2 separate regions of the Homo sapiens genome follow, and region 2 is linked to region 1. The links are contacts of gene promoters, found by promoter capture Hi-C in human tissues and cell types (Jung and others, 2019). All regions are on one chromosome and are shown on one strand. The core of a region is centred on a gene start or on the middle of the fragment in contact, and the rest is flanking DNA. Distances in the headings are between cores, read along the strand shown. Region 1 holds the start of SKA3 (spindle and kinetochore associated complex subunit 3). Region 2 overlaps LINC00539 (long intergenic non-protein coding RNA 539).

The links. Contacts are between HindIII fragments. The study calls those that stand out against the background at their distance.
Region 2: a contact is called between a fragment that was not itself captured here and the fragment with the promoter of SKA3 in region 1, in 1 of the 25 tissues and cell types used here (spleen).

Annotation. Positions count from the first base shown.
Region 1 is chr13:21,173,145-21,179,776 of GRCh38, forward strand. It overlaps SKA3 (spindle and kinetochore associated complex subunit 3), which reads right to left and starts at 3,408. Exons shown (of 9, transcript NM_145061.6): 1 at 3,231-3,408. The coding sequence starts at 3,333. It overlaps MRPL57 (mitochondrial ribosomal protein L57), which reads left to right and starts at 3,514. Exons shown (of 2, transcript NM_024026.5): 1 at 3,514-3,573; 2 at 3,768-5,940. The coding sequence starts at 3,773. The coding sequence ends at 4,081. RefSeq lists enhancers at 1,481-2,203, 2,926-3,648, 3,664-3,983. The HindIII fragment of the contact is 23,400 bases long and covers 1-6,632 here.
Region 2 is chr13:21,325,834-21,332,493 of GRCh38, forward strand. LINC00539 (long intergenic non-protein coding RNA 539) reads right to left here. Exons shown (of 3, transcript NR_103841.1): 2 at 4,741-4,825. It also overlaps the pseudogene MIPEPP3. Among named protein-coding and RNA genes, the nearest start is that of LINC00539, 16 kb to the right of the region's middle. The HindIII fragment of the contact is 8,475 bases long and covers 1-6,660 here.

The DNA.
Region 1 (6,632 bases), core at 2,158-4,657:
TACCTGCACAACTGGCCCTCAGCTCAAGAAAAAGGAGAAACAGAGCCTTAGTAGAACTCTAGAAGCCCTCTTATAGTCTCTCCCTTCCCCACAAGGGTAAACTTTAGCCTGATTTCTTTTTCTTTTTTTGAGATGGAGTTTCGCTCTTGTTGCCCAGGCTGGAGTGCAATGGTGCGATCTTGGCTCACTGCAACCTTCACCTCCCGGATTCAAGCGATTCTCCTGTCTCAGTCTCCCAAGTAGCTGGGACTACAGGTGTGCGCCACTACATCTGGCTAGTTTTATATTTTTAATAGAGATGGGGGTTTCACCATGTTGGTGAGGCTGGTCTTGAACTCCTGACCTCAAGTGATCCACCCGCCTCGGCCTCTCAAAGTGTTGGGATTATAGGCGTGAGCCACTGCACCCAGCCACCTTACCCTGATTTCTAACGCCATGAAGTAGTTTTGTCACTTATGAACTTGATTTAATGGACTCAAACAATATGTACTCTTTTGCGACTGGCTTCTTTCACTCAACTGTTACATTCTTCCACGTTCGTAATCTAATCCATGTTCATTATTGTGTAGCATTTCCACTGCGTGATACCATATTTATTTATTCTATTGTTGAAACACTTTGGATTGTGCCTAGTTTGGAATTATTATGAATACTCTTGCTTTGAACTTCCTAGAACATGTCTTTGGTACCAACGTATTCATATTTCTGTATGTTAAGAGACTCAGAAAAAGTGCTGGATTATATGTTATGCATATGCTCAACTTCAGTAAATACTGCTAGTTTTCCAACATGATTTTTACAGTTCACACTCCCACCAGCAGTGCATAAGAAGTGCATTTGTTCCTGCTCATCATCACTGGCCATCAGAGAAATGCAAATCAAAACCACAATGAGATACCATCTCACACCAGTTAGAATGGCAATCATTAAAAAGTCAGGAAAAAACAGGTGCTGGAGAGGATGTGGAGAAATAGGAACACTTTTACACTGTTGGTAGGACTGTAAACTAGTTCAACCATTGTGGAAGACAGTGTGGCAATTCCTCAAGGATCTAGAACTAAAAATACCATTTGACCCAGCCATCCCATCACTGGGTATATACCCAAAGGATTATAAATCATGCTGCTATAAAGACACATGCACACTTATGTTTATTGCCGCACTATTCACAATAGCAAAGACTTGGAACCAACCCAAATGTCCATCAATGATAGACTGGATTAAGAAAATGTGACACATATACACCATGTGCAGCCATAAAAAAGGATAAGTTCATGTCCTATGTAGGGACATGGATGAATCTGGAAACCATCATTCTCAGCAAACTATTGCAAGGACAAAAAACCAAACACCGCATGTTCTCACTCATAGGTGGGAATTGAACAATGAGAACACTTGGACACAGGAAGGGGAACATCACACACTTGGGCCTGTCATGGGGTGAGGGAAGGGGGGAGGGATAGCATTAGGAGATATACCTAATGTAAATGACGAGATAATGGGTACAGCACACCAACATGGTGCATGTATACATATGTAAGAAACCTGCACGTTGTGCACATGTACCCTAGAACTTAAAAGTATAATAATTTTAAAAAAAGAAAAAAAAAGTGCGTACTGCTCCAACAACAACAACAACAACAACAAAAAGCGCATTTGTTCCACATCTTTCCAAACACTTGGTAATTTTCTCTTTTTCGTTTTAGCTATCCTGCTGGGTATGCAACTGTACTACATTGAGATTTAATTTGCATTTCCTTGATGACTAATGAAATTTGCATTTCCTTGATGACTAATGAAATTGATGTCTTTTCACATTCCTGATGACCATCTGAAGATAGTTTTTTCTTTCTTAGATGGAGTCTAAGATCGCTCAGGCTGGAGTGCAGTGGCGCGATCTCGGGTCACTGCAACCTCCGCTTCCAGGGTTCAAGCGATTCTCCCACCTCAGCCTCCGAGTAGCTGGGATTACAGGCGCCCACTACTATGCCCAGCTAATTGTTTTGTATTTTTAGTAGAGACGAGGTTTCACCACGTTGGCCAGGCTGGTCTTGAACTCCTGACCTCGGGCGATCCACCCACCTCGGCCTCCCAAAATGCTGGGATTACAGGCGTGTGCCACCGTGCACGGCCAAATCTTTTTTTCTTTTTGAGACGGACTCTTGCTCTGTCGCCGAGGCTGGAGTGCAGTGGCGGATCTCGGCTCACTGCAAGTTCCGCCTCCCGGGTTCACGCCATTCTCCTACCTCAGCCTCCCGAGTAGCTGGGACTACCGGCGCCCGCCACCACGCCCGGCTAATTTTTTGTATTTTTAGTAGAGACGGGGTTTCACCGTGTTAGCCAGAATGGTCTCGATCTCCTGACCTTGTGATCCGCCCGCCTCAGCCTCCCAAAGTGCTAGGATTACAGGCGTGAGCCACCGCGCCGGGCAGAAATAGACATTTTCAAGTGACTGGAGATCATTCATTATATAATTAAAGTAAAAGTAGTCTGCAGGGTGTAATATTTTAAAGCACATTACAATTATGACATTTATGAAATAATTCCAAAATCTGAACTACTTTTTCAACAATTTAAAAAATCTCTAATAAAAAGGGGAATGGTGAATTTTGCTTTATTTATATACACATATTTTTTTAAACCCCAGCACTGTTGAGTACTAGTGTTTGTGTTGGCAACATGGTTTAGCGGGAAAAACACAGAGGTTTACTGCAACTGTGGACCACGTGAGTGAGAAAAAAGTCACTATATGTGTAAAGTATTGTGTAAAGAACGTTAAATAGCTTGATTCTAAGAGAAACTGTTTAGGTTTACATGGTATTTTACTGACAAGCACACATATTGTATGTGACGAAAGCATATCACGTATAAATTAGTATATGTATTATGAGCTCAATCTGTTAATTTAGGTTCTTATTCTTAAGTGCTGCTGTCTCTGTTTATAACGTAATAGTGCTACTTTCATTATCTCAAGAGAGCCGTGGGGTTGTACATGGGTCTAAAACGGACACGCGACAAGGGTTCCTAGGAATAAACCATAAACAGGCCCGGGAGCTACGCTAACGCCAAACGCCGAGCAGTGAGACGCGCAGCACCCGCCCTGCGCCTCGGTGGCAGCCGTCCACGCCGTCAGTGCCTGGCGGTTCCCGTGGGACATACCGTCCACTCGCCACGCCCCTCCGCCCGCGGCGCACCCCACGCACCGTGCCCTGGCCGCCCGCCTCACGCACCGCTTTCCTCTCCGTCCAGCGCTCGCTGCAGCCGGGCCGTCTCGCAGTCCAGCGTGCTGGCCAGAGACCGCAGCTTCCCGCAGAAGCTCCGGATAGGGTCCATGCTGAGCACAGCGGGGAAGGACTCCAGGCGTACGCAGACCCCACCGCTCAGCTCACAGCCTCCCGCCACTAGTTTGAATCTCGGCGCCGGACGCGTCCTCGGCTCTGCGCAGGCGCAGTCCTCTCTCGCGAGAGCCGAAGTCTCTCGCCGAGGCCCCAGGAGACCCCGCGAGACGGGTGCGCTTACGCCACGGCGTCTGCTGGCGGCCGCGGAGACGCAGAGTCTTGAGCAGCGCGGCAGGTGAGTAGCTGTGCGAATTCGGTTCTCTAGGGAGCTCCTTCTTCGCCTGCTGGCCTTACCTGGGCTCCCCGCTTCTCTGGAGGGGAGGCGGTGCGGGAACTCCCGTAGGCGTGAGCTGGAGCGCGCGCCCGCTGCTCTCTCCAGGTCCGGCCGCGCCAGTTCGCCTCCGCAAAGCCCGTCCCTCTCTTCCGCAGGCACCATGTTCCTGACTGCGCTCCTCTGGCGCGGCCGCATTCCCGGCCGTCAGTGGATCGGGAAGCACCGGCGGCCGCGGTTCGTGTCGTTGCGCGCCAAGCAGAACATGATCCGCCGCCTGGAGATCGAGGCGGAGAACCATTACTGGCTGAGCATGCCCTACATGACCCGGGAGCAGGAGCGCGGCCACGCCGCGGTGCGCAGGAGGGAGGCCTTCGAGGCCATAAAGGCGGCCGCCACTTCCAAGTTCCCCCCGCATAGATTCATTGCGGACCAGCTCGACCATCTCAATGTCACCAAGAAATGGTCCTAATCCTGAGTCGTCACCCTTGGATTTTATGGATCACGGAGCTGACCATCTTTACCTGGTCCTGGAACTGAAAAACTGTAGCTTGTGTGAAAATGAGCCTTTGGACCAGTCTTTATTAAAACAAACAAACATGAGTAGTCTGCATATCGAATATCTAGAGCTCTAAACCCCCAATACTTAAAAGTCTAATTGCTGTCCTGTGGTTTCATTAGTCTGATAGGAAGATAGGGATTTCCTCAGTCACAGATGATATTTTGAAGGAAAGCTGCAATAAAGCCACAATGATTTGAGGTCTTTGCTTAAGTATGAGATACTTGATGGGGGCTTTATCATGCAACATTAGTTTGCTTACCTTAAGAATTGCCCAAAAATGAAAGAAAATATGAGCTTTTCAGTTAAACATACTCCTAAAAACATTTTCCGGGATTTTACTACTAAAATTGGACATTTAAGCGAAGTAAAAGAGGCCGGGTGCGGTGGCTCACGCCTGTAATCCCAACACTTTAGGAGTCCAAGGCGGGCGGATCACTTGAGGTCAGGAGTTCAAGACCAGCTTGGCCAAGGTGATAAAACCCGTCTCTACTAATACAAAAAAAATTAGCTGGGTATGTTGGTGCAGGCTTGCAATCCCAGCTACTTGGGACGCTGAGGTGGGAGGATCGCCTGAACCTCAGAGGCAGAGGTTGCAATGAAGCGGAGGTTGCAGTGAGCCGAGAGCATGCCGCTGCACTCCAGCCTGGGAGACTGCATCTCAAAAAAGAAAAATAAACGAAGTAAAAGATATTTATCAGAGCTGTTACAGGAAGGTGTATTTTTTAGCTATTTTGGCAGGGTGCTGTGGTGCTTGCATGTAGTCCCAGCTATTCAGGAATATTGCTTGAGTCCAGCTTGGGCAACATAGCGAGACCCTATCTAAAATAACAATAATATATGGCCAGGCGGGATGGCTCACGCCTGTAATCCCAGCACTTTGGGAGGCTGAGGCGGGCAGATCACTTGAGGCCAGGAGTTCAAGACCAGCCCAACCAACATGGTGAAACCCTGTCTCCACTGAAAATACATAAAATTAGCCGGGTGCAGTGGTGAGGCCTGTAATCCCAGCTACTCAGGAGGCTGAGGCAGGAGAATCGCTTGCACCCAGGAGGTGGAGGCTGCAGTAAGTCGAGATTGTGTCACTGCACTCTAGCCTGGGCGACAGAAAAAGAAAATTTAGGTGGGGAAAAAAATCAGAATTGCGTCTGTGGGAACAGGAATAAAGGAGAAACCACTATTGACTGGGAAGACACACAAAGAACTTTGTCAAAGTTGTATGGCTGAGGCCCACACGGTGGCTCACTTCTGTAATCCCATCACTTTGGGAGGCTTAGGCAGAAGGATCACCTGAGATCAGGAGTTCCAGACCAGCCTGGCCAACATGGCGAAACCCCATCTCTACTAAAAATACAAAAATTAGCCGGGCGTGGTGGCTTACGCCTGTAATCCCAGCACTTTGGGAGGCCAAGGTGGGCGGATCACAAGGTCAGGAGTTCGAGACCAGCCTGGCCAATATGGTGAAACCCCATCTCTACTAAAAATATAAAAATCAGCAAAAAAAATTTAGCCAGGCTTGGTCATGCATGCCTGTAATCCTAGCTACTGGGAAGGCTGAGGAAGGAGAATTGCTTGAACCCAGGTGGTGGAGGTTGCAGTGAGCTGAGATCGTGCCACTGCTCTCCAGCCTGCATGACGGGAGTGAGACACCATCTCAAAAAATACATATAATAATATAAATAAAAATATCTTTTTTGAAAATAATTTAATATACCATGTAATTTACCAGTTGAAGATGTTCGCTTTCAGAATATAATAAAAATAGTCAAAAACTTTGTGTTTCTAAATACATACTGTATATAGTAGTGTAATACAGTACCCTATACAATATGCATTTGGTGACACAGTATACAGCACTCTATACGGTTGGAACTATTTTATATTTGAGGAAACATTTAAGGAACTGTCCACAGTTACAGCCAGTGATGAGATGGACTTGAGATTGAATTGCTGTATAATACAGAAATCTTGGGTGAGTACGGTCAACAATAATTTATTGAACATTTAAAAATAGCTGAGGCCGGGTGTGGTGGCTCACGCCTGTAATCCCAGCACTTTGGGAGGTCTAGGCAGGCGGATCACGAGGTCGGGAGATCGGGACCATCCTGGCCAATATGGTGAAACCCCATCTCTACTAAAAAATAGAAAAACTAGCTGGGCATGGTGGCACATGCCTTTAATTCCAGCTACTCGGGAGGCTGAGGCAGGAGGAGAATCACTTGAACCAGGGAGTTGGAGATTGCAGTGAGCTGAGATTGTGCCACTGCACTCCAGCCTGGTGACAGAGCAAGACTCCATCTCAAAAAAATAAAAATAAATAGCTGAAAGATGGCCTGGCACACTGGCTAACGTTTGCAATCCCAACACTTTGGGAAGCCTAAGAATTGGAGACCAGCTTGGGCAACATAGTGAGAACTCTACAAAAAATCAAAAAATTGGCCAGGCCCATGGTGTGCACCTGTAG
Region 2 (6,660 bases), core at 2,225-4,724, 150 kb after region 1:
TTATTTTAGGGACACTTCCTGGAAGTAGAACATGACCATCCCATTGGCCAGAACTTAGTCACATCTAGTTGCAAGGGAATTGGGAACATAGTCATGATTCCAGAACCATGCGCCCAGCTAAAAATCAGGAGGTTTTATATCATGGTAGAAAGGGGGAACAGACATGGCGCTACAGCAGGAGACAGTATCTGCTACAAATACCAAACGAAGGGCGCTGGCAATGAGCATTTTAGAGGTTAAGGGGAGATTTAATGCGGGCAGGGTCCGGCAGAGAGGGGCTGCACAGTGCAAGGGGACCGGGGCTGACTTTGAAGGAAGGGCTACTCCGCCCAATTACGAGAACACGTGAGCACCCTTGCCCCAGAGTGAGCATCAACACCGTGATCACGGTTATCACGTGGGAGGTCTGCCCAGGATCCCGGCAGTGAGGCTGCCCTGGAGGCAGGCTTGCTCCGCCACAGGCGCGCAGGCAACAGCAGCGGAGCCGAGAATGGCGAGGCCAGCGGGCGACCAGGCCTCCGGCCAAGGGCACGCGACCCCCCGCGCTTCCCGAGTGCTCCCCTGAAGCCTGGTACGCGTGGGCACCGGCGCACGGCGGTGCCCCGGAAACGCAGCCATCGCCTCAGGGCAGCCACTCACCGATGCGGTAATGCCCCAACGGGGCGTTTCATTGGCCAGCTCTCTTTCAGGCTCCAACTATTTCTTAGATTTTTTTTAAGGAATTGCAAATAGGCCTAAACAAAATCCAGATGCGAGGGAAGGGATGCCTGAACACAGATGGGTGGGAGAACACGCCCCGAGGTGCTGCTTTGGCAGAGAAGCCCTGTCTGCGAGCCCCGAGGCGGAGATGGCTCCCCAAGCCTGATGCAGACAAGAGAGCCCGCCCCTCCCCTGTCCCGCACCTGCTGAACTTTGGGGTCAGCAGAGGAATGTCCCCCGCTGTTAATGTTTTGTTTTTACTGTTTTACAATTCACATTTCGTGCTGCAGGGTGTACCGTGAAGCTACAACAGGGACAGACAGGTTTGTAGGAAGCGGCATTTCCCAAAAGCAACCTCTGAACCTTTTATTCCCGGAGCACATCACAGGTCCAGCGTTCCATAGAACACACCCTAGAAAAACGCTCCTGTGGAGGATCCGTCCCGCCAGGATCCCCAGCTGGTCAGGAATGCTGGGAGGGCCTCCTCACTCGGGCTATTCTCCCTCCCACACATTCATCTGAGGGGACAGGCTCTGGTTAGTTAGAAAATTGTAACATAGCAAGGTAGGAGCAGCAGCCCCTTGTCACCTTAGGCTCCAACTGAGGGTGGGAGGTGGGAGGTGGGGTTGGGCGGTTTGGGGATGGGAAACCTGGCTCTGCCTCCCTTCCTCCCATTTGCACCACAGAGCTGGATCCCAGGTGGCCAGATCCCCTGCAACCGACAATGATTGAGGACCTTCTCAGCGCCAGCTCTTTAGGTGCTGGAGACATATTCTGCACTGAAGGTGCTCCCTGAAAGGACTAAGAAACAGAGAAAGAAGCAGGTCATTGCAATACAGTGTGCTGGGTACAAGAGTCGAGGCGTAATGTCAGATATGAGAGTGACTCAAGGGAATGATCTTGTTTGGGGGAGGTGGGCAAGCAGGAGGAGCTGTGGCAGAAGGCGATCAGAGAGGATAAAGACAAAGGTATGTGTTCGAGATTGTCAAATGAAAGCCATGCACAGTCCAGGGGCTTCAGGAATATTCTCATCTCAGGGAATCGGATCTGGAATCTGGGAATCAGGCTCTTGTTCTCCTGGGATAAGAGCGAGCCTGGGAGTAAAATGAATCACCAGTGCTCCTGGAGAGGCGTGGGAATCCTGGGCTGGTGCAGGCCCTCCCTGCTATTAATACTGCAGCTCCCAGATTCTGCTTGAAACCATAGAGAGAGCTTTGGTCAGAGGCCAGCAAGCCCCTCAGCCCCAAGCAGGAGTAGGCAAAATGCATGGTAGTGGCCCAGGAGCCTGGGGTGTCAGTGGTGCGGTAGTGTCTTTGTAGTGGTGGCACAGGGCTGAAGTGGTAAGAGGCTGGGAACAAGATGAAGCAGACAAGGTGAAAGGGGATGAAACAGGAGGAAAAGAGAGAGAAGGAGAGGGCAGTCTGCTGCAGTCCCAGTGCCCTGGGGATCAGTAACTTTGCATCCTGGCCCTAGCCCCACTTATTACTGCCTGTGTGACGTTGGGCCAGTCATCTGTGCTCTGGGCCAGCTCCCTTAGCTATAGAATGAGGTGCGGAGAGAAGCTGTGATCTCTACAGCCCCCTCTTCCTCAAGTGGCATGAACACTCTCTTTTTCTGGAAGGTCCCTTACCAACTGCTGGCAACCACTGCGAAGAGCAGTGGGCAGGTGGGTGCAGATGGCAGTGGTGCTGATGAGGGGTTGGGGGTGCTGGCACCTCAGGATAACTCAAAAGCGGTGCAGGCTGAAGCCCTTCCTCCCTCCTTCCTTCTACCTCCTGCCTGCTGAGCCCCCCAGGACCCAGCAGCTAATGTAATCGTCTCCTGGAATGCCCCATAATGGCCCTGCAGCAGTTTCTGCAGGCTCCGCCTCTCTGCAGGCAGCAGTCTGCGAGTTCAGAGGAAAATGAGCTCCCTGCTCTCGGGAAGGTGAAGTCAGCCTAGGACAGCGGCAGGACTGCAGCTCCCTCTGGACAAGGGGCCTGTGCAGCAGACCTCACCAGGTACCTTTCCCCACAGAACCTACACAGAAGCACAAGGTCCTTTGCTCCTTCTTTGATAAGGTGTCCTCTCTCGTGGTTGATTTCAAACTGTGTTGAGCTAAGAACCCTTTCTTTAAATGAAAGGTGTTATGGAAGCCTAAACAACACATTATTCAATAACGATTTCTTGAAATAAGTGTGTGTCAAATGCAGTGTCGAGAACTGGGTACCTGGTGGTAACCCAAACAGACTTTATCTCTGCCTTCATAGAGCTTGCTTTAGTGGGCAAATACAGCCATAAATGAGTAAATATTTACTAACTCTTCATTATGGTCAGTGTCGTGAAGGAAAAAAATGTGGGATGGCCTTTCGGTTGCATTATTAGGAACGATTTCCAGGTCAGGAAGTGATGCTTCTGCACCCAGCAGTACCTGTCAGTGTGAAATCTGGGGTGGAGACCAGGTCAGAGCTTTGGATGGCTGATGACACCCAGGAGGAAGAGGCAGCCTCTACACGCAGGTGGGACAGTGAGCCCCTGCCTTGTGGTCTGTGCTGAGCTTCCCCACAATGCAAGCCAAGGCATCAGCTCCCACCCACACCCCAAGGGACCTGCAGGAAACCAGGCTGCATTTCAACAACAAGCAGAAAGCACAGAGCTTTACACACAATCTAAATACATCAACCATTTGAAGATGCTAAACTCCATACAAGAGCATCACCAGACTCCACAAAAGAAAAAACTTATAACTGAGGAAACCGAGCTAATAGTCAAATCAGAACAGAAACTTATAATCTGTATACTTCGTATTTTGGAGAGATGTGGGTGGGTATCTATATGTCAAATGAGAGGAGATCATTACAATCAAGAGCTGGCAATTATGAAAAGAAACAGTGAAATTCCTGGGAGTGAAAAATATCAGTATTCAAAAATCTTTCTGGCTATAGTGAGGAGAATGAATTGCAAGGAGGTAAGACACACTTTAGCCAGGTAAGAGATGGTCGTGGCTTTGGCTAGGGTGGAGGCAGAGGAAAGGGAGAAGAGTAGATGGATTCAGAATACAGTTTGAAGAGTCAGCAGGACTTGCTAACCTCTTCAGCATTTGAGTGTGAGGATGAGGGAGAAGGAGCCCTCAGGGACGATGTCTGGAATGAACACAGAGCTGCCCCGGTTAAAGATGCTCAGGGATTATAATGCAGGGCCCCTGCAGAGACTGCGAAGGCCTCTTTACCCCTTTCCCTGCATCAAAATGAGGTAGCCCTGCCATCATACAATCCTCAAACTGCACCCTTCTTTCTCCTTATCCTATCCTTACCAGACACCCAGAGGGTTTGAAAGCAAGAGCCAAGCTGCATCCAGCACTGAAGGACCACTCTACTTATTCCTCCCTGATGTCTTCAGGGAGAGTCTGGCTGGTGAGGGAGGGAAATGTGACTGTTACAAGTTGGGTTCCCTTGAAAGCAGACTCTAAGATGGAGTTTTTTGTGTAGAATGCCTATTAAGGGGTCAACACCTGTGTAAAGAGGAGGAAGCAGTATGCAGAAACAGAAATTGAGCCAAGGTCAAAGAGAGCCTTGGTCAGTCCCACAGGTGCAGGGCTTGGAAGCTCAAATGGCCCTTCAGAGTTGTTTTAAGTTGGTCTGAGATGGCCAGATCTTTATGTGTCCACATCAATCAGTTGTTAGATTTGGGTGCCATGGGCAGGGGTGTGACATCAGTAAGGCTGCTCTCTGCAGCCCAGGCAACCTCTGTGTGCCAGCAGCACTCTGCACCACTGGGACTGCAAGTCCTTATTGAGGGGATCTACGTGGCACTTTACAGTGTTCACCATAGTGCCCAAGGCCAAGGTAGCCTCTCACGTGGCTTGAGGTACAGCCTTGTACATACCACGTTGTACCTTGTATGTACCTGGTCTGAGGTCATTCCTAAACATTACTGGGGAAAACCAGAAGTTCAGAAGCAAGGAGAGACCTAATTAAAACCAAGGAGACTATATATTAAGGTAGAAGAGTAAGGAATGGCTTTATATTAATACATAGTCAGCATAAAGCTGAAAACACTCACCCGTGGCAGACGGCATCATCTAGGAAGAATGTCTGGAAATTGATATTCTGCAGTTCAGATTTTACCAGTTCACAACGTAAATATCCTGTTGAGAAAAGCAAGTCTCACTCAGTTGATAAATATAACTCTCTCTGCTGCTTTCATTTCAGTTTCGAAATGACCAGGCTGGCAGTTGGCTGAGCCAGTCTCTTAGAACCCTTTGAAGCACTGGATGCAGGCTGATGAGCTGCCATAAACGTCTTTGAGTCCCAACACTGCTCAGGAACTGCATATCATACCAAAGTCTGCCTGTGTGATCCTTTAATTTGTGAATGTAAAAACTGAGGTGGGAGGCAAATACTGATGTTCTCAAAGACCCGTCTCAGCTATTCCATTCAAACAGAGCCCAGAATCTTCAAAATTCTGCTTCTTCAGCTTACCTCCTGTCTCAGGCTGGTTCCCCAGAAGCATCCCAGAGATGCAGATTTGTGAGAAAGTGATGTGTTGGGCAGTGTCCCCTGCAGGGAAGTGAGGATGCAAGACAGTGAGAAGGAAGCCAAGCAAGAGTGCAATGTCAAGCAAGGTCCCGTGCTTGCAGGGCACTGGCTCCTCCCACAGAGGAGATTTGGAGACTGAGAGCCCCTCCCTCCATTGGTCAAGGGCCATCTCAGAGGGATGCATGTTTCTAGGTATCCCCCACTCTCTCTGCACACAGGTAAAGGAGACTCCAGAAGCATGAGGGCAGCCCTCTCACAAAGAAGCATGGGTTCTGGATACCGAGAGTAAAAGCAAACGTGGAGCCAAGGGGTGTGAAAATGGGAAAGGGACCCAAGGAAATAGAGTAGTGCATCCACCATGAGTAAGTGCCACAGTCACTGGGTCAGCACCTGCTGTGTCCAACACCATGCTAAGTATCGTGGAGAGGAGAGAAGTTACTAGACTTCCCTGCTGTCATCCTTAATGGACTATTGTCTCTTCCCTAGACACCTCAAACTGGGATTTAAGGTACATAAGCTCTCAGAAATGGCTTCCTGGAATTATGGCCATGAACATCAGTGAACTGTTAGGGTCCGTAGTTACATCTGGAAAATGACTGCCGTTTCAATACACAGGATTAGTTACAATAACAGCAACAGCCATAATAATAATGTGGCAGAGACTAGCTTGATGCTCATCACATCTCTACCTGGGCACATAGCAAAGTTTTCTATTCCAGCTCCCACCCTGGATCTCGGGTCCTAGTTCTCAACAACGAAATGCTTCCAAGCCAAGTTAAAGCAGCCACAACTTTCAAACGAAAACCTAAAGATCCTGTGTTGAAGACAGTGGCACCTTAAAATGCAAGGGCAGTATCCTTGAGTCCTCAGGTCACCAGAAAGCCACCCGATCAGGACCATCGACACTAGACTCTGTGTTAGTGAGAAACAAACTTGTGTTAAGCCATCATGATTTTAAAGTTGTTAGCAGTCAGCTTGCTCCAATAGGATGAACACTAATAAACATAGCGGTAACAACCTGCTGGGTAGTATCATTATTCTCACTTTGTTGGTGAGGAACTTGAGGCCCAAAATGGTCAGAAAGTTAGCAGATGGCAGAGCTGGTATTTCAAGTCTATTTTTTAATCCCTATCTTGCACTCCTTGGTCACGTAAACCTTGTGTGAATATGTTTGATGCTTTAATGGAGCAAAGAGGAGAATATTAAAATACCAGGTTTCTTGGGTGGGATGTGGAGTGAGGAGGAAGAACACAAAACGGAAAGGCTCCACGCATCAGAAGCCAAGCTTTGGGCACTCCACAGTTTTGCTAAAGACTTCCCTGTCTGCTCACATCTGGTCTGTTCCCCAGTATCCTCACTGTATTAAAGTTGTTTCTTTGTCATATTTTGCTCTTTTTTCTGGTGTGATTCTATCAATTACTTGCTACCAAGGAGAAGAAATGAG